Linked DNA regions of Homo sapiens: regions 2, 3 and 4 are each linked to region 1. Evidence: promoter capture Hi-C in 16 types of primary human blood cells and fetal thymus (Javierre and others, 2016). All regions are on one chromosome and are shown on one strand. The core of a region is centred on a gene start or on the middle of the fragment in contact, and the rest is flanking DNA. Distances in the headings are between cores, read along the strand shown. Region 1 holds the start of DCAF11 (DDB1 and CUL4 associated factor 11). Region 2 holds the start of DAD1 (defender against cell death 1). Region 3 holds the start of C14orf93 (chromosome 14 open reading frame 93). Region 4 overlaps ACIN1 (apoptotic chromatin condensation inducer 1).

What was found. Contacts are between HindIII fragments. The CHiCAGO score rates a contact against its expected background, and 5 or more counts as called.
Region 2: a contact is called between a fragment that was not itself captured here and the fragment with the promoter of DCAF11 in region 1, in 1 of 17 cell types (fetal thymus). The highest score is 6.2, in fetal thymus.
Region 3: a contact is called between a fragment that was not itself captured here and the fragment with the promoter of DCAF11 in region 1, in 2 of 17 cell types (non-activated CD4 T cells and activated CD4 T cells). The highest score is 7.5, in non-activated CD4 T cells.
Region 4: a fragment that was not itself captured here is called in contact with the fragment with the promoter of DCAF11 in region 1 in 1 of 17 cell types (naive B cells); the score reaches 5.5 in naive B cells.

Annotation. Positions count from the first base shown.
Region 1 is chr14:24,113,379-24,119,332 of GRCh38, forward strand. It overlaps DCAF11 (DDB1 and CUL4 associated factor 11), which reads left to right and starts at 1,399. Exons shown (of 15, transcript NM_025230.5): 1 at 1,399-1,915; 2 at 2,004-2,371; 3 at 3,539-3,666; 4 at 3,888-4,015; 5 at 4,290-4,354; 6 at 4,677-4,777; 7 at 5,010-5,156; 8 at 5,372-5,426; 9 at 5,767-5,835. The coding sequence starts at 2,217. It overlaps NRL (neural retina leucine zipper), which reads right to left and starts at 1,571. Exons shown (of 3, transcript NM_001354768.3): 1 at 1,344-1,571. RefSeq lists enhancers at 652-1,367, 949-1,088, 1,329-1,478. The HindIII fragment of the contact is 1,852 bases long and covers 807-2,658 here.
Region 2 is chr14:22,586,222-22,592,175 of GRCh38, forward strand. DAD1 (defender against cell death 1) reads right to left here and starts at 3,003. Exons shown (of 3, transcript NM_001344.4): 1 at 2,726-3,003. The coding sequence starts at 2,936. RefSeq lists enhancers at 2,000-2,641, 2,642-3,283. The HindIII fragment of the contact is 675 bases long and covers 1,894-2,568 here.
Region 3 is chr14:23,005,450-23,011,403 of GRCh38, forward strand. C14orf93 (chromosome 14 open reading frame 93) reads right to left here and starts at 4,694. Exons shown (of 7, transcript NM_021944.4): 1 at 4,652-4,694. LOC124903286 (a long non-coding RNA gene) reads left to right here. Exons shown (of 2, transcript XR_007064075.1): 2 at 1,119-3,535. RefSeq lists enhancers at 1,192-1,561, 2,495-3,055 and silencers at 1,722-1,771, 4,683-5,032. The HindIII fragment of the contact is 3,706 bases long and covers 1-3,329 here.
Region 4 is chr14:23,063,562-23,069,515 of GRCh38, forward strand. ACIN1 (apoptotic chromatin condensation inducer 1) reads right to left here. Exons shown (of 19, transcript NM_001386863.1): 9 at 5,915-5,954; 10 at 2,405-2,447; 11 at 794-927; 12 at 544-696; 13 at 1-16. Among named protein-coding and RNA genes, the nearest start is that of CDH24, 9.0 kb to the left of the region's middle. RefSeq lists enhancers at 4,901-5,425, 5,573-5,622, 5,703-5,792. The HindIII fragment of the contact is 5,796 bases long and covers 1-5,593 here.

The DNA of each region.
Region 1 (5,954 bases), core at 149-2,648:
AAAAAAAAAAAATGATTCCGTCACATTCTGGGAGAACGCAGGTAAAATCAATCAATAAATAAAGATCCCGATTTTCCAGGCTGGATAACCCAGAAACCACGGAATCCTAAAGTCTCAATAAACGTTAAAGCACAGATAGTAAGTAATCTGGCAATAGAGGATGGGCGCCCAGCAGACCGCCTACATAATCAGTGGAGCCGAGTGCAAGATGAAAATACCAGGCACTTGCTTTAAAATTACTAATAATTTCAAGACCGTTAACACTAGAACATTAAACCAAACATTCAGGACCCTTCTAAGCGCAGAGGCCATCAAAGCTAGCCCTGGTGACAAGCTCAGGTCTCCGGATCTAGAGACTAGGAGACGTCGCCCGAAAGCTGGCCAAACCCTCGCCCTCACTGGGAGAGGCCCCAGGAGGGCCCAAGAAGGCCACGAGCCCTCGCTCCCATCCCTGCCCTCAGGAGCGGGCGGAGGGAAGCTCGCAGCTTTCCCAAGGAAGTGCAGGCTGCAGGGAATGAAGTTCAGCTCGGACCCTGAGCCTCTGAGCCCGAGACAGCAAGGTCATTCAACCCACACGTCCCCACCCAGCCAGGGCGAGGATCAGAGATGTGGCAACTCCCGGCCTTGGACTCAGGCTTGTTACTCATAAACCCGCAGGAGGGGGCAGGAGGGGGCAGGAGGCGGCGAGCGCGCACCCTGGACCCGCGGCCGGGGGCGGAGAGGCACCGCGAGGACAGAGGGACTAGCGAAGGTCTGCAAATCCCGGAGGGCCAAGGGAGCGTCAAAGGGGACAGCGGAACCGGAAAAGCTTTGACAGAAAGACGCGTGTATTAGGGAACGTCTGCAAAGACCGCGGCGGAAAGCCAGGGATTGTCTTAAAAAATTGTCAGACCGGATAAAGGGAGGTCTAAAAGGGGACCGTCCCAAGAGCAAGGCTTCCAAAAGCTAAGCCCGGAAGGACGGTATGGAGGTCTACTGGGACGCTGGGCACCCCTTAGGGCAGAACCGACTGGAGCTGCGGCCAGCGACAGAAGAACGGCTCCAGCTGGACAGGGGAAGCAGTGGGGAGAAAGGAGGCCCTTGGGCACTGTCTGAAAAGTGCGATGCCAAATGATCTTTAGGGACAGACAGTAAATTATATCCCTTGCTAAAATACCTCTCGGTAGCGAACCACCAAACGTTTCTTTTTTAAGCCCCGCCTCTCAGCCGTTACGCCTAGTTCGGCTGTCTCTGATTCAGGAAGCTGGCAGTTCCCACTTACTCCTCCCCAGCAAGAGCTAACAGCCCTCCTTGGGTGTGCACTTTCTCCTCCCCTCAGGCACCTCGCGCATTCTCCCGCCTACCTATCAATCATCGTGCTCCGCTGTCCAGTTGGCTGGCCAAGGGGGCGGGGCCGTCGTGTGACGTTTGCAGCCCGCCGGCCAGGAAGCCGCGAGATGCGTGACGAGCGAAGCGCGTGACGGAGGAGCGGTTGGCCAACGCAGTGGCGGCAGTCGGTGTAAACAAGGCCTCGCGCCGCTGCGGGTCCTGCGACCGCTCCTGGCTGGTGGGTGGTCTCGCGTGGGGCGGTTACCGCCGGCTTCAGTGGGAGGTGCTTCTCGGCTTCCTCCCCCTCATGGCGTACACACCCCCGGCGCACCACGTGGGCGTGAGGCGAGGAAGGAGGGGTGTTAGGCCAAATTCTATTTTCATTGGCTGTCACTGCTGCCGGCCTTTGTAAGGGGGCGCTCTGATTGGTCGATAAGGTGGGGGCGTCGAGGGTCTTTGAGTCCTAAGGCTTCTAATTGGTTAGATGAGATAAGCTAGTGAAGCGCTTTCTTCCGAGAGGGATTTCGATTGGTCGGTCAGAGAGGTTACCTGGAAATCCAACACCGCCCAACACCCCTCCCGCTCCCCAGTCCGGGGACTTCGATAGGTGAGTTTGGTGTAGAAAACAAATCTTTCTTCAGTTGGTGAGCTAGGGTAGCGCACTACGGTTCACTCTTGCTTTCTTTGCTTCACAGGATTGGAGAAGGTTTGTGTTCCCGACGCCTTGGTAGTTGGCATAGGCTAAAGAAAAGGGATCTCAGCCCCGAGGAAGGGTCACCCTCCTAGAGATAGCTACTACCCCGTCTCAGGAGACCCTGGTATTTCTAGAGCACGCTTTGCTTTCACCAAACCCAAGGAGGTGACAGGAGGAGCCCCCGCACAGGACCTAAGAATGCTGTGACCAGAAGATGGGATCGCGGAACAGCAGCAGTGCAGGATCCGGGTCCGGAGACCCCTCCGAGGGCTTGCCCCGAAGAGGGGCTGGCCTGCGTCGGAGTGAGGAAGAGGAAGAAGAGGATGAAGATGTGGATCTGGCCCAGGTACTGGCCTATCTCCTCCGCAGGTAACTTACCCTCTGGTGTGACCCCCAGCAGGTGCTACCACAGTGCCTTGATCCCAACTCCAGGCAGGAAAATTACAGAGGTTAGGAAATGGGATTCGCTCAGGACAGCTGTTCTGTTTGAGCTGAACAGCCTTTCCCTGCTGGGCACCCATGGCACTCAGCTCCATACCCAGTAAGAGTGGTTCTTACCTAGGGAGGGTCACCAAGAGGACCTGCTCATGTGTTTGAGGGGCTATTCAAGGGAGCCTGTCTCTGTGACTACACAAATATAGTCTATTTTCCAAGTAAGCTTGAAAAAAAAAAGGGGGGGGTCCTAGTGGGAAAGGAGTGATGTAAGGGGTGAAGAGATGGGAAGGGAGTGTTGAACTTTTTAGTAAGGCAGTTGACACATGATATGAGGCCACTTCGATTTACTTGAAAAACAAGTTTAATTTGCCCTGACTCTAACCTGTTCTTGAGGAAAGAATGCCTTGAAGGGAGAGACCACCTGGAATTGACTGGAAAAGGGTGCAGCTGGCTTTCTTTCTTTGCTTATGGCTCTTTGAGGAGAAGATGGGTTTGGGGGTCCCTTCAGAATATTGTATTCTTTTTTGTTTGTGTTTTGTGTTGTTTTTAGTAGACATAGACAGGGCTCACTGTGTTCCCCAGTCTGGAGAACGGGCTATTCACAGGTGTGATCAAGTGCACACCACAGCCTGCAACTCCTGGGCTCAAGCAATCCTTGCCTCCCAGGTAGCTAAGACTACAGTTGCACACACCACCGCACCCAGCTTAGAATATTGTCTTCTGTGGTGGACTTCTCAGGCAGAGGCTCAGAAGGAAATGCTGTGAGGATGTTTAGCTTGTTGGGAGGTCAACTTAGTAGGTCATGTCCACAGCGTATTGGTCTTGCTCTTGTTCTAAGGAAATGATGTTAGAATGTTTAGCTCGCTGGGAGGTCAACTTAGTAGGTCACGTCCACAGCATGTTGGTCTTGCTCTTGCTGTAAGAGTAAAACTCTCTTTCCTACTGTGTTTTATAGGAGACCAAAAATAACAGCCAAGGTCTAGTCAGCCTCAAACCTCAAAATGAGTACCAAGTGGTCTAAGAGCTAGATAGCCATTGACTCTGAATTTGGTTGGTTTGGGGGAAGAAGTCCCCTCCTTTATAATGGGGGTCTCTCCACAGAGGCCAAGTGAGGTTGGTGCAGGGAGGAGGTGCAGCAAATTTACAATTCATTCAGGCCCTCTTGGACTCAGAGGAAGAGAATGACAGAGCTTGGGATGGTCGTCTTGGGGATCGATACAACCCACCTGGTAAGAGGAAAAGCCCCTAATGTTGGAAGACTTTTACTAGAAAACCTTTTAGTGATATTTTGAATGATAGGTTACATTGAAAGAAGGTACGATAATTTAAGGAATAAGGAGTCCTTACAGCCCCAGTATATTCAGCCACAGGGGTGGGCTTGGGTACAGTTCTGCTAACTGTCCTCTGAGGCTGGCAGACCTAGGATGAAACTTCTCCTTGGTACTCACAGTGGATGCTACCCCTGACACCCGGGAGCTGGAATTCAATGAGATCAAGACACAAGTGGAACTGGCCACAGGGCAGCTGGGGCTTAGGCGGGCCGCCCAGAAGCACAGCTTTCCTCGAATGTTGCACCAGGTAGGCCTCTCCACCTCCCAGCCTGGCAGCAGGCCTGCCAAAGCAGCCAGAAGCTCTGCCAGCCCCAGAGAAAAAGGAAGTCAACTTTCCAAAGTAGAAGCCTCAAGCGCTGGGGCTGGAGAGTTAACCAGCCTCCATCGGAGTTCTGTGGGACAGACTATGATGTGTGTGTCCATTTCTATAACAAGAGCAATATCTTTGGAGGAGGGGGCTTGATATGGCTGAAGTGGCCCTCTATTTCTGCTAGCAATATTCCCCAATCCCTTCCATTTAGAGAGAACGGGGCCTCTGCCATCGGGGAAGCTTCTCCCTTGGAGAACAGTCTCGAGTGATATCTCAGTGAGTATGGGGCTTGGTGAAGAGACTCTAAGGGCCAGATAGGTCTTATCTCCTAAACTTTGAAGGGGTAGGTGTTAAAGGAGCCTCAGAGATATTAAAGGTTAGGTTAAATGGGGTTGAAACTTTGAGAGTAAACAAAGTAGAAAAGTGTAGAAAATTGTAGAAATTTAGAGGATGGTGGAATGGTTGAAAGACGGGATTGCACTCACAGCCAAAAGGGAAGAATGACTGTTCTGATATTCCAGCTCTGTTAGGATTCTGCTGATTGGGACACTCCTTATCCTGAGCACCCCTCACCCTCACTTTCTCTCTCCTTCCCTAGCTTCTTGCCCAATGATCTGGGCTTCACTGATAGCTACTCTCAGAAGGCTTTCTGTGGCATCTACAGCAAAGATGGTCAAATATTCATGTCTGCTTGCCAAGGTACCAGACCCTGGTCCTATAAACTATCTTTTCCTGGAACATGGGACATTCCCCCTGACTGAGGCTAGAAAGCCACAGACGGGGAGCTCAGACCTGGCTTAAGGATGCTTAGCCAGACCATGTTTCCCATGATAAAGGGAAGACTCCACAGGTACACTGAGTGGGAGATGTCTAATCTAGAAAAGTTACAAGGAAACTGTCCCATAATTCTGCCTGATCTTTACTTACACAGACCAGACAATCCGACTCTATGACTGCCGATATGGCCGTTTCCGTAAATTCAAGAGCATCAAGGCCCGCGACGTAGGCTGGAGCGTCTTGGATGTGGCCTTCACCCCTGATGGGAACCACTTCCTCTACTCTAGCTGGTCTGATTACAGTGAGTATGCACCAGGCTTCCACTGACTCTCCAGCCTGGGACCTGAGGTTTCCATGTGCCTGTCCCCTCTGAGCCAGGATCCCTCACTTTGTCCTGGGAAAATCACTCCCAAAGTGCTCCAGTACCCTTGTCCCCTGTTTGATCTCTTCCCTAGCTTCACTTCCACTCTTCTTCCCCCATCCCTGAAAGATTCTTGTTTTTCTTGCTTCTCTTAGTTCATATCTGCAATATCTATGGTGAGGGAGATACACACACTGCCCTGGATCTCAGGTACTGGCTTCCCTTTCTGGTCAGACTCATCAGAAACTTCTCAAGGGAAGCTCTTTGGGAGCAAACCTCTTGAGTTGGAAGTTCTGTTTAGGGGAAAAAGTATACTGGTGGGTCTGTGTGCATTCCTGGGAGGGAAGCACCATCTTGTCAGCCAGAGGACTGGGTAAAATAGATGGTTGCAGGATGATTTCTGGGTTCTCACTGAGCATCTGCATTATGGTGCATGTTAGCCAGACTTCTTTTTTCCCCTGGGGATGTGCCTTACAACCGTTGTCAGATTTTATGTAGATTAACAAAAGCTGAAGGAAGTCCACTTAACCCAGCTCCTTCTTGCTTTTAGGCCAGATGAGCGTCGCTTTGCTGTCTTCTCCATTGCTGTCTCCTCAGATGGACGAGAAGTACTAGGAGGGTAAGTGCTTGTGGGGTATGTTTCCCTCAATAACAAGATGGGGGTTCTGCCAGAGATGAGTTCTGCTGTTACACAGATGGCACTGGCAGCTGCAGAGAACAACCAGACCTTCTCCCAAG
Region 2 (5,954 bases), core at 981-3,480, 1.5 Mb before region 1:
CAGAAGCTTTACTATTACCTACAGGATAAAGTCCAAATTCCTGGCCGGGCACAGTGACTCACACCTGTAATCCCAGCACTTTGGGAGGCAGAGGCAGGCGGATCACCTGAGGTCAGGAGTTTGAGACCAGCCTGACCAACATGGAGAAACTCCGTCTCCACTAAAAATACAAAATTCGCCGGGCGTGGTGGCACATGCCTGTAATCCCAGCTACTTCGGAGGCTGAGGCAGGAGAATTGCTTAAACCTGGGAGACAGAGGTTGCAGTGAACCGAGATCGCCATTGCACTCCAGCCTGAGAAAAAAGAGCAAAACTCCATCTCAAAAAAAGTCCAAATTCCTTGGCCTGGCATTCAAACATCTAGCACCCAGCACTACCTAATCCTTCAACAGTATCGCCTACATTTCCCTCTCCCAGCTCACTGGACTCCTCCATTCTCTTGCAACAGGAAATTCCACAGGAAAGTTAGAAACCCCAGCACCATAAAAAGGAACAAGGCTACCTTTGCCAACAATCAAAACAAAGGATAAGCGTCCAAATTTCCCATTAAAACCAGTCTCCAGTTGATGATCTAGGCTAACAAATGGCAGAAGAGGCAGGATTTAGGAAAGTCAATGCTGTCAAAAGAAGGGTAAATCATACCCTTCTGTGGCAACTAAGAATTATCATGAATCCCTTCTTTTCTTGAAGTTGCTTTCATTTCTATAGCTCTATTATCTGTTATCTAACAGATCTGGAAATCCTAATCCCCCTTATTGGCCCCATTACTAATATGCCCTTTTACTAGGTTTTTCTTCAATGACAAGCCACCTAGTTCCCACTGGAGAGGAGAAAGGCAGTCCAGTCTGCCAATTCAATTTCAGCCACAACGGGCTCAAAAACAGGTCTTGGCATAAGTGAAAGTCATTTGCTCAAAAAAACCTTCTGGCTTTATTACACTGATAATCTATAACTCTAGTCCATGCCCACTCTTCAGCAAACCACATTCTTCAAAGCATCCATGAAAAATCATTCTAGACCCTAGAGGCTTATGAAGGCAGGGTGACTTCTACATGGAGAAGGCATCTTTTTTAAAATCAGCTTTCAGACCCTGCCTTGCTCCTACTCTTCCAGACCTGGAAACAAAAACATCAAACAAAATTAAATCAAAAGTTCTCATCAAGGTTCCTTCTCCGGGCTGGCTAATAAAAACATATAGTACCGTGGCAGAGGGCGGTGGGTGGGTGGTGGAGAATACTTAGAGCAAAGGGGTAGTGTATCTGGTCGGATGATGGTTAACACATCCTGAAGGCAAGGACGCCACCACAGACAACTAGGTCTTGGTCATCTAGGACAAAAGTCAAAGATGGTAACTAAATATCCAATCAAAAGGCTAATCTGCAACTTCAGTACACAAGTCATTAGATCCTCAGACCTGTTTTAAATTCTAAGAAATATCTCTGGTGTGTCAGAACAATGTAAATGTACAATAAGCATTCTATAGGTCTGTAACTTTAAGCACAGCACCACTGTCACCAGACTTTTTTTTTTTTTTTTTGAGGCTGAGCCTCACTCTCACCCAAGCTGAAGTGCAATGGCACGATCTCGGCTCACTACAACCTCCACCTCCCGGGTTCAAGCGATTCTGCCTCAGCCTCCCGAGTAGCTGGGATTACAGGTGTGTGCCACCATGCCTGGCTAATTTATGTATTTTCAGTAGAGATGGGGTTTCACCATGTTGGCCAGGCTGGTCTTGAACTCCTGACCTCAAGTGATCTGCCTACCTCGGCCTCCCAAAGTACTGGGATTACAGGCATGAGCCACTGTGCCAGGCCTCCAGACAATTCCAATGCTGTATTTTGTCTGTACCCCAACTAGACCATAAACTCTTTACGGATAAAGAACATGTGCCAAAGCTTTTACCATAATGCCTCATATTGGACTGAAAATACAACTGATGACCTGACTGATGATCACACTGAAAAGAAACCATGAATGCTGGCATGTTTTCAAAGTCAAAGTAGCAGGTGATACCAGTGATAGAGGCCACGCCTGTTTTCAGTATTCACTGAATCCCCGTTGGGCAAGAAAAGTCAGATTTTAACAAAAATTGATGGAGACTGTTCTCGCTAAATATAGCAGTCTACAAGGTTACCAAATCCTGGAATCAAAAGGAAAAATAAGGCTAAAATAGAGTTATGTGAACAAAAATTGGGTTCAGGACAGTGAAATAACAGCTTCCTCAACAAGAAAAAAAGTAGTAGCAGCTAAAAGGCAAAATCAAGTAAAGGATGATTCAACAAGAAAAGCACCAGTATTTATATTCTTTGCACTTTCATTGAAACGTTTCACCGGAGATTGGTAATGATTAGGCCAAGATGACAGAGATGATTCAAGGTTGGGTTTTTCATTTGAAAAGTCTACTAATTTTAGAGTTGTGTTAAACCTAAGTTAAAGTTGGAATAGGGTTTTCCCCGGACCAATATTAAGTGAAGTGGATCACCAAGTGGAGTAGCGGCACGAAGGTGGTTTCTTTAGACTTTTAAGTCCAACTCCTACGGAGCCGTTTGGTATTAGGCATATAATCTAAGCTTTCTGAGCCTCAATTTCCCCATTCACAACAAAAGGGCAATGCAGGCTCTTCTCATAACTTCAAGGGGCGGTGGTCTGATATAGAGTACTATGAAAACAAAAGCAGCACACCAAAGTAACACATTATTATTATGATCACTTATAGAACCATTACCCGCTAGGATGAAACTCCCCACACAAGAGATGAAGCCCGAGAGAAAAGAGTTGAAGGGGAAGGTCCCCACGAGGAGACAGTAACCGAACTGCAGCGCCCCGGTCAGCAGTATATACAGCAGGTACGCGTCCAGCAACTTCAGACGCTGCGGAGTGGAGCTCAAGTACTCTTCTAAGAACCGCGAAATGACAGACACTACCGACGCCGACATAACTGCACGCAAGGTACTCCGGTCCGCGCCCCAAACTCTTGGAGGACCCGTCGACCACACCGGATGTGCTGTTTGCGCATGCGCACCCTCGTGACCTAACTCCGCCCTCCCCGGTGTGCCAATTTGCGCAGGCGCTGAGGCCGGCCAGGGCGCGTAACAACTAATGCGCAGACGCGGACTGCATCAACAGACTCAACTACAACTCAGAAAAGTTAATGCGTCTGCGCAATGGCCCTATCAATGAGCTGGGGACGTGTACTCTTTCTGTTCTGTTTCCGCCCGTCAGCTCGGTGACGCCCACAGTTGCTCTGGCAACAAGACACACTGGGAGGAAGAGGGGAATAAGCTTTACTGGGGACCGCGTAGCTAACCAGAGGTATCCGGCTCTCTCTGGTCCTTCTGAGTCCTGGAAGATTTAACGGTTTGCATCTACTTTGAGGCAATGCCTGGCGTTCCTGGGGTTTGATACCAGCCTGACCCTAATTCTGTTAAGGGCGCTGTCTGCAGATGTCTGTCACAGATCATTGGAACAAGTCAAGTTCATCCGCAGTGAGACCCGGCGCGGCCAATCACTGCACAGGCCCCAGTTTAGACTTAATTACTTGGGGGAGTGAGTGGGTGTGGTGAGGGGCGGGAGGCAGGGAGGAAGCCTGACCTCAGCAGGGTTCTGAACTGGAACTCGGGATCTGGCCCTGCAATGCCAACATTTATTGGGCGCCTCCTTGGGGCCTGACGTTGTACTAACTTGTAGGGACTCTCACGTGAATCAGATATATTTGCAGCCTTAAAAGAGCTGGTGAAGGGAGGGACAGCTGTCGAATGTCGTGCAAAAAGCATATGGTCAAGTTTAGCAGCTCTCTTTCCGCAAGCTGGTATCTTGAACCTGGTGTAATATCCCGGGATGTCAGCGTCGAAAGGCCCGAAAGAGCATGCCTGGTTCAACCCTACTCTCTCCAACTCATTTTGCAGAAGAAACTGAAATGGTTTCAGGTTTTGTATTTTAACAAGTGGGATTATTTTGAGGGTTTTAACTGTTTTTTTTTTTTTTTTTGAGACGGAGCCTTGCTCTGTCGGCCAGGCTGGAGTGCAGTGTCGCGATCTCGGCCCACTGCAACCTCCGCCTCCCTAGTAGCTGGGACTACAGGCACGCGCCACCACGCCCGGCTAATTTTTGTATTTTCAGTAGAGACGGAGTTTCACCATTGTTAGCCAGGCTGGTCCCGAACTCCTGACCTTGTGATCCGCCAGCCTCGGCCTCCCAAAGTGCTGGGATTACAGGCATGAGCCACTGCACCCGGCCTGTTTTAACTTTTTTTAAGAAATTAAGTTCTGGCTTTCGTTGCCCTTTTAATTTCACGTGAATCCGACCTTCTAGACCCAGTTCATCTCACCTTTTAGCTGTAAGTTTTTCCACACATGACCAGGTACTTTATTTTCAGCTTCTTAATATTTTGAACTGTACGTGAGCAAAATTCCTAAAACAGCAGGTGAACAACAGCGTTCCTGCCTTTTCACTTTTTTTTTTTTTTTTTTTTGAGATGAAGTTTTGCTCTTGTCACCCAGGCTGGAGTGCAGTGAATGGTGCGATCTCGGCTCACTGCAACCTCCACCTCCTGGGTTCAAGCCATTCTCCTGCCTCAGCCTCCCGAGTAGCTGGGATTAGAGGCACCTGCCACCACGCCCGGCTAATTTTTGTATTTTTAGTAGAAACGGGGTTTCGCCATGTTGGCCAAGCTGATCTTGAACTCCTGACCTCAGGTGATCTGCCTGCTTCAGCCTCCCAAAGTGCTGGGATTATAGGAGTGAGCCACTGCGCCGGCCCCTTTTCACTTTTTATTTGCCTTTAGACTGGAAACTCTACACGCATTAACTAACGGATGTATTATCAGTGGTGATCAAAGCCTTACTTAAGTTCTAGAAAGAAGAGAAATAACCTAAGAAACCTTTAGAGTCTATTTGAATAGATAGATTTATATTCATACCCGTGGAGATTTGTGCAGCTATATGAACATAAGTTCAGCCTAAACCTATGTTGCTGAGAAAGAAAAAAAAAGAGTGGATAACAAGCTGGTTCTTATTTCAATATAATATGGCAGGAAGCATCAATTTCTCTGACAAGTTGAACCTTTCTCTCTGCCTCATCAACAAGTAGGAGGGTAGCTTCCTCACGAATATTCAACTTCAAACTTTACAGGCTAGGCTGATGCTTTTTAATCATTCAGGTGTGGATTCTTCAGGGAGTTTCTGTTCCATCAGCCAGGCTCCTTCCAGTGTTTTCTCCCTTATGTTTTGTCTGCCTTTGATCCATGTCAACTATCATCATTAAGATCTCCCCAGGAACTCTCACAGGAGAGAAGAAGAGATGAAAAACACCAAATGGACTTATTGAATGCATTTGTTTCTGAGACCTGCTAGTCACACCAATATACTACACTAGGGCTTTTCTGAACTACTTAAAACAGCAAGAAAAGGCCTACTTCTCTATTCGGTTTATGATTCTATAATCATTGAAACATTTTTAACTGATCTGTCAATAGGAAATTGCTAACACTAGTGTTGATTTCAATTAGTTTAAATCAGAATATTAATATAGTTTAAAATTCTTGTCCAGAGTAGTGGATAAGAGTGCAAGCTCTAGAATCAGACAGTCCTAGGTTTGAACCTTGATTCTGCTGTTTACTAGTTGTCTAATCTGGAACAAGTTACTCAGTCTGACAGTCTCATTTTCCTTTTCTATAAAACAGAAATAACAATACCTGGCTCATTGAAATTATGTGAGGATTAAATGAGATAATGTTAAGCATTAAGCTGTTAGCATAGTGTTTGGCAGACAGTAAATGTTCAGTAAATGTTTGCTCTTATTAACTATCATTAATCCTAGTAATTAACCATGTCTGCTTCTCCTAGTTCTCTGAATGATTAAAAGTTAGCCAAACTACAGCGCCCCCAATAATTTGGGTATGCAAAAGATAGCACTGGAGGGACTGCAACTCAAATGGCTCTTAAAGGGCAGATCTA
Region 3 (5,954 bases), core at 227-2,726, 1.1 Mb before region 1:
AAGACCCAGTCTCTAAAAAATAAATAAATAAAAAGAGGAGACACCAGTATATTAGAGAAGAAGTGTATTTATTTAACATTTTAAATTTCAAATGATGGCAACATGTTTAAGTAGAAAGTCCTGAAAACAACTGACTAGGTCTAAAAAAGAGAAAAAGATCTTCAATCTTGGGATGCGTTGCCAACACAACATGACAGTAGATGTCACACTTAGGTTTGCAAAAAATATAAGCATTTGGGGTTCATTTCAGTATTGGTCTAATTTAAATAAATGTGAAACGAGCCTTAAAAATGTACTTTCCAGTACTTTTGGTATTTTTCATAAATATTTAGATAAAAAAGAAAGACAATTCATCTCCTTTAGACAGACAGTTCAGGGTAAGACTGTCCATAATTTTAACTATCCCTTTCCTCCCAAGTCACATTTTTGTTAGGACTAAATATATCATACTCTTGGCAGTTCCCTTGCTTGCTTTCTCCCCATTCTGAGTTTGAATTTTCTGCATGACTGAGTTCACCTCCAAACTATGAAAAATAAAAGTTTTCTCACTATTTAATAGATGTGTATGATATGGTATCACTCAGATGATATATGTTTTTATAATGGGTGCTTGACTCATTCAGGGTCATGCTAGCAATAGACTTCCTTAAATGTGATTACTGAAAGCATGGCAATTCATATCATAATCTTCATTTTAAGAAATAAATAAGGAAAACGGCCACTTAAAGCTCCTGCTGTGTTGGTCAGTCCTACTCCTCCACTTCAAGGTGCAAAATGGCTCACCTGTCAAAAGGTTCTCTCAAAACCTATTTTTATCAGAAATGAGCTCCTTATCACACAAGAGCAGCTAAGTAAATACCACAAAATACTATTTTCCCACATTTTAAAAGAGTGACTCGACTAATGGTCTGCAAAAAATCCAAGACCTTATTTTTAGGGGTAAAAAAGAGAGCTGTAGACCCAGAAGGCCGAATGCGGTCTTTAAAGGATTCCACGTAATCTGAAAATTCCACGTATATTTCTATAGCAGGATGAGAATTTTTAGCCCAGTATAGCACAGTCCTTTTTATTTACATTTGCTAAGATTACATTGGTAAGATTAATATTTCCGATTTCAGGTTTGCCTAAAGGACCCACTGCATTTATGGAGAAACTGAAAAATGAAAAAGTAGCTCCTAGAACTCGTGCCAGCGAGAACTTGGTAAATGTTAGTTGATTAAATATTAGTCAAGGATGACAAGGTGGACCCCAGGGAGGGCAGAACCGTTTCCGATGGGTCAGTGTGATTCAGCTACGGGAAAGGCGATCGCAGCGACGCGGGAAGCAGAGATCGGCGACTGCTCAAGAGGCCTCAGGGGACAGGGTGACTCGCCACTGTGCCCTACCATACAGTGCGCTCTGGGAGTCCCGGGTAAAGGGGGTCATTCCCGCGAGGGATGCGGAGAGCAGAGCGGCCGGAGGAGCGGCTAGGGATCTCGCCGGGTCACCGGGGAGGGTAGACTACGTAGCCCCGAGAGCTTTGAGAACTTGGGCTGAAGGCGGCGCTCGCCGTGAGAACTGACGCGGAGGTGCAGCTTTGCAGCCCTACAGATGTTCTACCGCGTGTGCCTGGCGCTACCGCACGGGCTGACTCAGCTAGGCAGAGGCGGAGGCGGGCGCGCGGGAGACAGAACTATCCGCGGCGCCTGCCCGTGTACCCGGCTACCGCGCGCACGCGGGGAGACACCGCCCCGTTTGCCTTCTGGCTCCCGGTGATTGGCGGTTAGACGATGGCTGGGGAGCAGGGTCACGGACACTATTGGCTGCAAACAACAGTCACTCAAAAAGTCAGGTAGGGGAGGGGCCTCCTCAGGGAGGGACAAGACTGTGAGGCTTTTTCAAGGCCGTCAGACGCCATCTTTAGCTTGTTTTTGTTTACTTGCTTTTGTTCTCTGCTGCTCACAAACCTGTGTGTACACGATTATAAGCACAGTGGCCACAAATCGGCGTCACACGTTGGGTGGTGGCCGACTTTTAGTTACTGCTGGCCTCGGTTACATTTCTTTCACATGTCACCTGCAAATTAGCAGCTCCTCACAGTTCAAAGAAGTTTCCAATACTAGGGGCCCCGAGGATTCCCAGGCAAAATCAACAGAGTTTAGTTTTGCTTTGCTTTGGAAGGCCAAGCCAACGATATATATGTGCGAGGAATTCTCTCCTTTCTTAGGAAGAAAAAGCAAGAACAGTGGATATGACCCTACGTTCCTGGATGTAGAAATCAAATAGCCTAGGAAATCAGGGATACGGGCTCTGCACTGTTCAGGGAGAGCTCTCCCTATTTTTTGAGACGCTAAAAAGTAAGGTAAAAAGTATATGTGATGACCTGTAGTGATGTGGAAAAGAGCTAAAAAGGGTAAAACTCCATTAAAAATTCCCGTAACTGGCCGGGCGCGGTGGCTCACGCCTGTAATCCCAGCACTTTGAGAGGCAGAGGCGGGCGGATCACCTAAAGTCAGGAGTTGGAGACCAGCCTGACCAACATGGTGAAACCCCGTCTCTACTAAAAATACAAAAATCAGCCCGGCATGGTGGCACATGCCTGTAATCCCAGCTACTCGGGAGGCCGAGACAGGAGAATCGCTTGAACCCAGGAGGCGAAGGTTGCAGTGAGCCAAGATCGCACCATTGCCACTGCAGCCTGGGCAACAAGAGCGAAACTCCGTTTCAAAAAAAAAAAAAAAAAAAAAAAAAACTCCCATCACTGTTGTGATCACAAAGATCACTAAAATGTGACTAGATTTCAAAGAAATGCAGGTCTGAAATTGTGGAATAATCCACAGTCGAGCCAGTATTTATTAAGCACTGGTCTGACTTGAATTGTTAGAGAATAAAAATACACTCAGCACAAGTAAGAAACCCAGAAAGCCCAAACAGGGCCACTTTTGTTATAAATTTGTACAAGTAACTTTATTGCAGTCAGTATTTAGGAGTCAAATACTGCTTGAAATAGAGTAGGATGCTAGCTGTGTAATAGAAATGCATTATTATACAGAAGTTTTGTTGTAATGAAATTTAAATTCTACAGTAGATTTTTTTTTTTGTCTCCTGGTTGTCACTGCATTTGTGACATTCCAGTTTCTCCCTCAGCACCTCATATACCTCCTATGCTTTCACTCCAATCTGCGAATACAAATTTGGATACAGATATTTTCCATACAACTTCTAATGAGGAGATAGTGATTCTGTAACAGAATGAAGTGAAAATAGGGCTCCTATAACAGGAGGTTCTGCTCTGCGAGCCTGTTTTTCTCTAATTCATATACTTTTTTCTGTGACTCTTAGAAATGAGAAGCTTTCCATTCTAAAAATGCAACATGATAACCAAAAGGCATTTCTTATCCCTTCTATTATTTGCCTTTGCATCCTCTTGGCTCCCCATCACCATCACCATGAACAGTTTTTGAGAATTACACTTGACTGGATTTTTTTCCTGATACTTTGCCAGCTGTGGAGCTTTTCGAATATTCCAACCAATAAACGACCATTTTGTCAAAAAGCCAAGAAAGAACTTCCCTTCTGAACACACCAACCAAACCACACATAAAGGCCAAAATATACACAGCTGTACACTTAAGAACGTGAGACAATAAAAAGCAAAACCACTTAGGCAAAACAGTCACTGAAGGCTTTGAACCACAGATTCAATAAATTGCCTACTCTCATTTGCCACATGGACTATATACTCCTTGGCAATTATTTAATTATTCATTATTCTGATCCTTTAGGAGCAGAAAAATATAGTAAATGCACATAGAAAGTGCCTAAGTATGCTAAGCATAGGATTTCTTCTAAGCTCTGCTTTGCACACAAAATATTTTGATCACATTTGGGAAGACAACGGAAAAAAATTCACATCCTAGGGGATACTTTGCACACATAAAACCAGATATATTTATCACTTTTGAAAATAAAATCTGATATGGCACATATACACACATATTGTACATATACACAAATAACCCCAAGTTATAACTTTACAAATTTGTTTCAAGAAACACACACACACACACACAAATGTTCTAATGAAAATGTGTGTGAAAGACACACTGTAATTAAGGTCTTTCCCCCTTCCCTAGGGAAATGAATGTCTCCATTATAATATCCCAATATTAACTTATTGGCCTTGGACAAGTGCCACATCCCAGCCACTTGGTTTTGGTTCTGGGGGGGTGGGTGTGTAAAAAGCACGCAAACGGCTTTATGAGGGAGCCTCAAATCTCTCTGCTTCCTTCGATGTTGCCTGTGGCAGAAATTTACATTATCCCTTCAGCCCGCTTAAAAAATTCTGTACTTCCCAAGCGGCTAAATTTTTAAAGTCCCTCAACCACAAAAATCTACCAGTTCTTAAAATGTGATTTAAAAAAAAGAAAAAAAAACTATAAATTTGGCCGGAAACGGTTGTACACGGCCATCCTGCTTCTCAACTTCTTGGTATATTTAAAACCTTGACCAGGAAAAAGAAAGAGGAAGAGAGACAGAAAAAGAAATGGGGGAAAGAGCAAATTCCCCTTAGCAACAGTTTCCTCACCCCAACACTGCTACAGATCTCTATTTTTAAAAAATTTGAAAACACACACAAGATTAAGGAGGAAAAAAAATGGAAAAAGGATACCCGAAGGTCGTATGGCTCTTTGTATTCGTGTGTGTGCAAAAAGGAGGACTCGCGGAGCCCGAGCCGGCAAGCCCCGCCCCTCCCCGGACGCCCTCCCGGATTGGCCGTCCGCGGCCGCGGGGCGCCCCGCCCGCAAGCACACGCGCCGCGCCCGAGGCGCCAACCCCGGAGTTGGGGGCGGGGGGGGCCCTGAGGGCCGCCGGACCCCCGACCCCCAACCTCGCCTGGACCTTGGCAGACCCCTTTCCCACCTCTCTCCCTTTCACTTTCTCACCGTCCTGTCACCCTTTCCCATCTTTTTTTCTCAGTGAAACAAGGCCCAGTCACCAGCATAACAATCCAGTGAGCGACCTCCGGACACTTTGTTAAATTGAGTGAACTAGTCAGTAACATTCTAGACTGCAATTAAACATCAGGGACTTGGTGCGTGGGCCCTACTCCGGTTTCCAGGTGAAATGTCTCTGGGTCACGTGTGTTGCTTAACACCCCCACGTTTAAATGAACATTCACGTATGGAACATCTTTCTGAAGTCTTACACTTCAGCCCGAGCTCCCAGTTTATCTACCTGGCTCAGACCACATTCTCAAAACTAAAGTGGCTCCTCTTTATTTCCAGGAAGACAGCTGGTATACCTGGATTTTAAGCCACCCATAATCTGGTCCCACCCACCTATTTGTTATTTATTTATTTATTTAGACAGAGTCTCGCTCTGTCACCCAGGCTGGAGTGCAGTGGTATGATCTTCGCTCACTGTAAACTCCGCCCCTCCGCCCCCACCCCCACCCCCACCCCCACCCCGCCCAAGCGATTCTCCTGCCTCAGCCTCCCAAGAAGCTGGGACTACAGGCGTGCGCCACTGCACCCAGCTAATTTTTTTTGTTTTTGGTAGAGACAGGGTTTCGCCATGTTGGCCAGGCTGGTCCTGAACTCCTGACTTGAGGTGATGTGCCCACCCTGCCTTTTTTTTTTTTTTTTCAGTGATGTGATCTCGGCTCACTGCAACCCCCACCTCCGAGGCTCAAGCGATTCTCCTGCCTCAGCCTCCCGAGTAGCTGGGATTACGGATATATGCCACCACGCCCGGCTATTTTTTTTTTTTAAGTAGTGACGGGGTTTCACCATGTTGGCCAGGCTGGTTTTGAGCTCTTGACCTCAAGTTATCCTCCCGCCTTGGCCTCCCAAAGTGCTGGGATTACAGGCGTGAGCCACCGCGCCTGGGCACATATTTGTTCTTAGTTCCCTCTACGCTCGTCTTATCAATCTTGTATTATTCCTTTACTCAAGTGGCTTTTTTTTTTTTTT
Region 4 (5,954 bases), core at 1,446-3,945, 1.0 Mb before region 1:
CCTCTGCAGGTACTACCTATCAAGGTGTCAGAGAACACAGCAGGTCTGTTAAACACCAAACTGGCATATTCTTTTCAGCCTCTGGTTCCCCGGTAAGAGTAGCAGTCAATCTAGCATGTTCCTTCCGCTAGGGGTATTTCGTTATCGGCTCACTTCTACCAGATCCTGGGATTGTTAGTGCCTCAACTTTGCCTTGAGGAAAACTAAGACAGGAGTTAGTAAATTTTTTCTGTAGAGCAAAGCAGTACTTCAGGTTTTGCAGGCCACATAGTTTGTTGCAACTACTCAACTCTGGTGATGTTGTAGTGAACAAACAGCCACAGACAAAAGTGAATGAACTCGTGTGGTTGTGTTCCAATCAAACTTTATTTGTAACAGGTAGCCAGCTGGATTTGGTAGTCTGACCCCTGAAAGTGTCAGTCAACCCAACCCTCTGCACAGACAGGGAAGTTCCCTCCAAAGACTTTATCTCAGCTCCTCAGCTAGCTGCTCTGCATCTACTGCTCCCACCTTTCCCCTGACACTGGGGTGCAGAAGCCTTACCTGAGTGACTGTCCGGCATATTTTCAGCCCCTTGTCATGGGTCCCATCATCGCCATTACGCTCTGTCTCATCCTCAGAGATGCGAGAGTCATCAGCATGAAGATCCACAACAGCCTCCTGCCCCGCCAGGGGTTTGATGTCGGGGATGAGGCTCTGGGACACAGATACCCCCCACCCCGTTACACTGGGCCCATGTCTACTCCCACCTTAACAGGTCTCATCCTCCCTTCCCTGGCTCCTCCCACCTCACCTTTAGTGATTCAGTGGTGATACTGATGGAAGGTTTCTTCTGTGTGGTGGCTGTGCTGGCTCCCCAGCGTCGTTTCCGACCAGGCTGGCCCCCCTCTGTGTCACTGTTTCCAGCTGGCACCCCCTTGGTAGCTGCTGTCCCCAAGAAATAGACCCAACAGTTAGATGGTCTCAGGACCTCTGCTAGTTCAAACCGTAATACCTACAGGTTACCTCTGGCTGGAGTTTTGGTAAAAGGTTAACTTAAAGAAATCATATTTGGAGGCTGAGTGTGGTGGCTCACACCTGTAATCCCAGCACTTTGGGAGGCCAAGGCGGGTGGATCACGAGGTCAGGAGTTTGAGACTAGCCTGACCAACATGGTGAAACCCCATCTCTACTAAAAATACAAAAATTAGCCAGGCGTTGTGGTGCATGCCTGTAATCCCAGCTACTCAGGGTGCTGAAGCAGAATTGCTTGAACCCGGGAGGCGGAGGCTGCAGTGAGCCAAGATGGTGCCACTGACTGCACTCCAGCCTGGTGACAGAGCAAGACTCCGTCTCAAAAAAAAAAAAAGAAAAGAAATCATATTTGGGAACTGGGGAAACCATGGCTTCAGACTGAACACTGATCTAAAAGCAGTAAGGGAGGGGTAGCTAGTTTGATGAGCCGTTTAAACTTTTAATGGTAGACAGTAATATCAAGTAGTGTGGAAGAAAAACTGAGAAGGACATGTAAATGCAGAAGAAACAAGAACACTATGTGATACTAACATCTAGGCAGAACTAAGATCATGATGGGATCTGGTCTTCCTTTAATTTTCACACTACAGATTGATATTTAAGTTATAAACATCTATTATACTTTTGTAATCTAGAGTTCCTCATTGGGGAAAATGTTAAAATTGTTACTGTTTGAGGTGTGGGGCACTTTCATTTCCTTGGGTGCTCTCTTAGAATAACGCATAAACAAGGTCAGGCACGATGGCTCACGCCTGTAATCCCAACACTTTGGGAGGCCAAGGCAGGCGGATCACAAGGTCAGGAGTTCAAGACCAGCCTGTCCAACATGGGGAAACCCCATCTCTACTAAAAATACAAAAATTAGCTGGGCATGGTGGCGCATGCCTCTAATCCCAGCTACTCAGGAGGCGGAGGAGGATTGCTTGAACTGGGACCCGGAGGCGGAGGTTGCAGTGAGCCAAAATCGCACCACTGCACTCCAGCCTAGGGTACTACAGAGGGAGACTCCGTCTCAAAAAAACAACAACAAAATACCCAGAATAATTCATAAACTGCTAAGCATCACATAGGAGTCCCTGAAACTCATTCCTTGTTGAGTATTCAGGTATCTGAAAGAATAAATGCCTCTAAGGCTAAATGGGACATGGTCTCAGACACCTCACACTGTATCTCATTAAAATGTGACTGGAGCAATATGATGGGGATTGTCTCAAGTTTTGAATTCCAAAATGAAACCCTACATAGGAAAGGATTCAGATTTGCTAGGCACAAGGGGTGGGGCAGGAGGGAGTGACCCAAGAATGCCATTGAGAATGAAATTCTGGTTCTCAATGAATGCTGGTTTTTATGGTATTCCTGACTTTTATCAGGGATTTGGGGCTGGACTTACAGACAACGGAGATCTTCCTCTTGAATGATTTGGGCAGCGAGCTCTGTATGAAGAAGAAAAAGGGGAAAAAAAAGAGAAAGAGAGACACCCCACAGAGAGGGGGGAAGGAGGTTAGATGGGGCAGTCTTAGCTTAGCCTCCAAAGACACAGATAGAGTGAGAGAGAGAGACAGAGAGAGACACAGAGACAGACAGAGACCAAAACAGAAGCGGCAAACGGCAAAAACGAAGCAGAATCAATGCAAGTTAGAGAAAAAAATAAAACTAAACATCAGAGCAGGGAAAAGTCATCTACTCCGTATCACACCTGTGTATTAGCTTAACCAGAAATAAGCTGGAAGAGGAGTTCAGTAGCCTCTCAGCCCCCTAAAGATGTTGGTCATACCCCCTCTTTCACCGTCTGAGTCGAGAGGACACCAAGCCAAACAAACTGTGCCCCAAACTGGGTCATCTAGTCCTCCCAGGTCCTTCCTTGCTAACTCGAGGAAACAAGGAAAACCAACTTTGGATGGCAACTTCAACAAGGTAACCCTCCTTTCTTCAATGGCCAGACTGATGCCCACTGACAATGGCTTTGAGATGCTTGGACAGCAGACTGTCATGTCAAGACTGCCCAGACCCCCACCACACTGTGGAAAAGGGCAGCACCAGACCCACTGGAGATGAGGCTCTTGAGCCAAGTGCTAGCAAAAAGAACTCAAAGGTGTCTTTGATAAAGGAAGGTTTTTATGAAGGGCAGATTGTCCCCAAGGAGATCCTTAGACTTTCCAGCCACCGCAGGGAGCTCCAGCAGAGTCTTACTGTTTCCTCTCCAACCAGGGCTCAAGCCTTAGGGGCTCTGCCAAAGACCAGAAGACATCTTTGGGACAAGTCTCTACCCCAAACACTCAGTGGGTGAATGACGAAAGACTATGGGGGGCGGGGGAGAAAAGTGAGAGAGAAAAAGGGAATAGAGTATTTTCAAGTGTAGGTGCTTATTTCTGGAAAAACTAAGACCACTCTACCACTCTTCTAAAGGGTAGGGCAGAAACCTCGTGATGAAATCCCTTTCCCATCCACCCCCACCCGCAGCCCCGTTTGTGTCGTCTAACCAAGTCTCCTTGGTCTCTGTTAAGGGCCAGCCTGACCCCTAGCTGGGCCGCTCTCGATGGGTAAGTTAGTGAGAAAAACAAAACAAAAAAAAAGGTCTTAATTAAAACAGGAAAAACATGAACCAAATAAATAAATAAAAGAAATCAGAAAAAATAAAGATATAGAAAAAAATAAAATAAAATATTAAAAAAAGAAGAAGAAAATAAAGAAGAAAATAAACTAGGAATATGACAAATGTTCCAGGTACCATCTCACACCTGGGATCTTCAGTTCAGCCAATCGCACCTCACTGTGTACTGTATCTAGTCAACCGCCGGTCCAATCAGAATGAGCCCTCCCTGCTAGGCGCTGTGCAATTGGTGGGGGGTTGGGTTGGCAAAAAAGGTGGGCGCACGGCGTGGTAGTCAGCACGGCACTGCCAGAGTCCTCCCAGGGGCGCAGGGGGGGCGGGAGGGAAACGTGTGGGGGGACGCTGCCCAGTTTCCATGATGTCAAGACAGTTCACTGGCGGTGGCCAGGCTCAGCGAGGGATAGAGGGGGGAAAGGGGCAGAGACATCAGTCCTGGCCCTGAAGGGACATCATCTTGCAGTCCCTGATGAGATGGCCTGTGAGTAGCAGGAATGATCCTTGCCTTTTATCGTGAGAGGCAGGCAGGACCCTATGTCCACCAGTGGCAAGCTGCAGCAATAACACCACCCAATACTTGGAATCCAGGTGATGACTCCAGAGTCCCTTTCTCCTCTGCCTGTAACTGGGGAGGGGGTCCTCTCACCGAGTGGGATCATGGAGCCTCTGATGAAGGTAGCCTGGGGGTAGGTGAATACCCCAGGACCTGGCAGACATTCAGCAGCAAGGTCAGAATACTTCTCTTCGGAGAGTTGTGGCTGGCATCTCCTCAGGGACTCCAGCTGAGACAGTGGTTCCAGTCAGGTGGATGAAATGAGTCCCTGCCTCCAGGGATGGAGGAGAAGTTGGAGCAACCAACATGCTGCCCTTCACCATGGACAACAGGGACCAAAGGAAAGTCCATCTGATGAGCAAGTGGTGACACATGGGCTGGGCTGTCATCAGCATTAAATCCCCAGGGGCTCAGACCCTAGACTCCTCTGCACGGTTCCTAGTCGTCACAGCTTAAGTAGAGGGTCCCACTCAGTGTTTTACAGCATGGCACTGCGATCACAAACTTTAGGAGGTCTTGGTGCCCTAGATGGGGATCCCAACAGTCTGTAGCAAACAAGGCAACCCACAGTCCTCAAAAGGGCAAGGGCATGTGGGCAGGCGCCCCAGCACTGGCACAAGCTCTTCTTGGGGTGTCCCAAGTAGGGAGATGATGCAAGTCCACCCCTTTCCAAATGTTTTTTGCTTGCTCAATACAAGTCTCTCCAGAACAGTGTTCTTCTTGGCCCCCTGATGTAAGCAAGACAGGGAGGCAAAAGGGGGCCCATCACAGGAGCCCATATACATGCCCCCCTCTGGCCAAGACACCTGGATAGCAGACTTGGCTCTGATTGGGCAGCTCAGTAGCAGCGGGTGGGTCCAGAGGAAGAGGCGGCATCAGCGATTGGCCAGTTGGGCAGGGTTATATTTTACGGGCGGATTACCGTACATGAGGTACTTGGACAAAGTTTTACGGGGAAGAAGGACCTTGTAATAAATAATATTCTGCACATCAAATCACTTTCACCGGCCCCCACCCCCGCAACACACACCAGAAAAAGGCTACACACACAACAGTCCCTCCCACCTTGTTACCCCTCTCCTAAACCCAGCTCATTCTTTCTCAATTACTTTAAGAGCCAAGAAGACTTCGCTGGCTCTGATGGGGGAAGCCCCCTGAAGTGGGTGCAGGACACAAGATAACATATGCCAAAAAAGGAGGTAGAGGGGTCACAGGTAACTGAGAATGGGCCTTCCGGATCACAAGTGCTGGCTTCTAAGTAGCTACATCTCTGCAGTCAGACCACTGGAGGGCAGAGGAGGAACAAAAATTTCTCAGCATGGCTGGTCTGGTGAGAACCACCAATGTCCACTAGATGGCGTTGGGCTCCATCAGGCTTTTAAAAAGGAGGGAAAGCTAAAGGAGTTACCACCAGGAGAAGCTTGGGAAGACAGCAGGAAAAGCTGAACATAAATCTTAGATAAAGGGCCATTATCAGACTTTCCCGTTAGTTACAAACGTCTAGAGTCTGGGCACTACTTCCCCAACAAGGAAAGGAAAATGAATGAGCCCTGTCCCCGTCACAAGGGGTCTCCCTTGCTAAACCAGCGAATTCTCCCTTGGCCCTATTCTGATCCAAGTCCCTGCCTCATCCCTCCTTTAAGTTAACCCACCGTGTAAGAGGGATCACTAGAGTGCTCTACTCTTTCCCCTAGGTCCATTCCTGCCCACCCGCCCCAATAGGTGGCTTGGATGTTTACCTCTTTCTTCTCCTCATCTTCAACACTGCCCTCCGGGCGG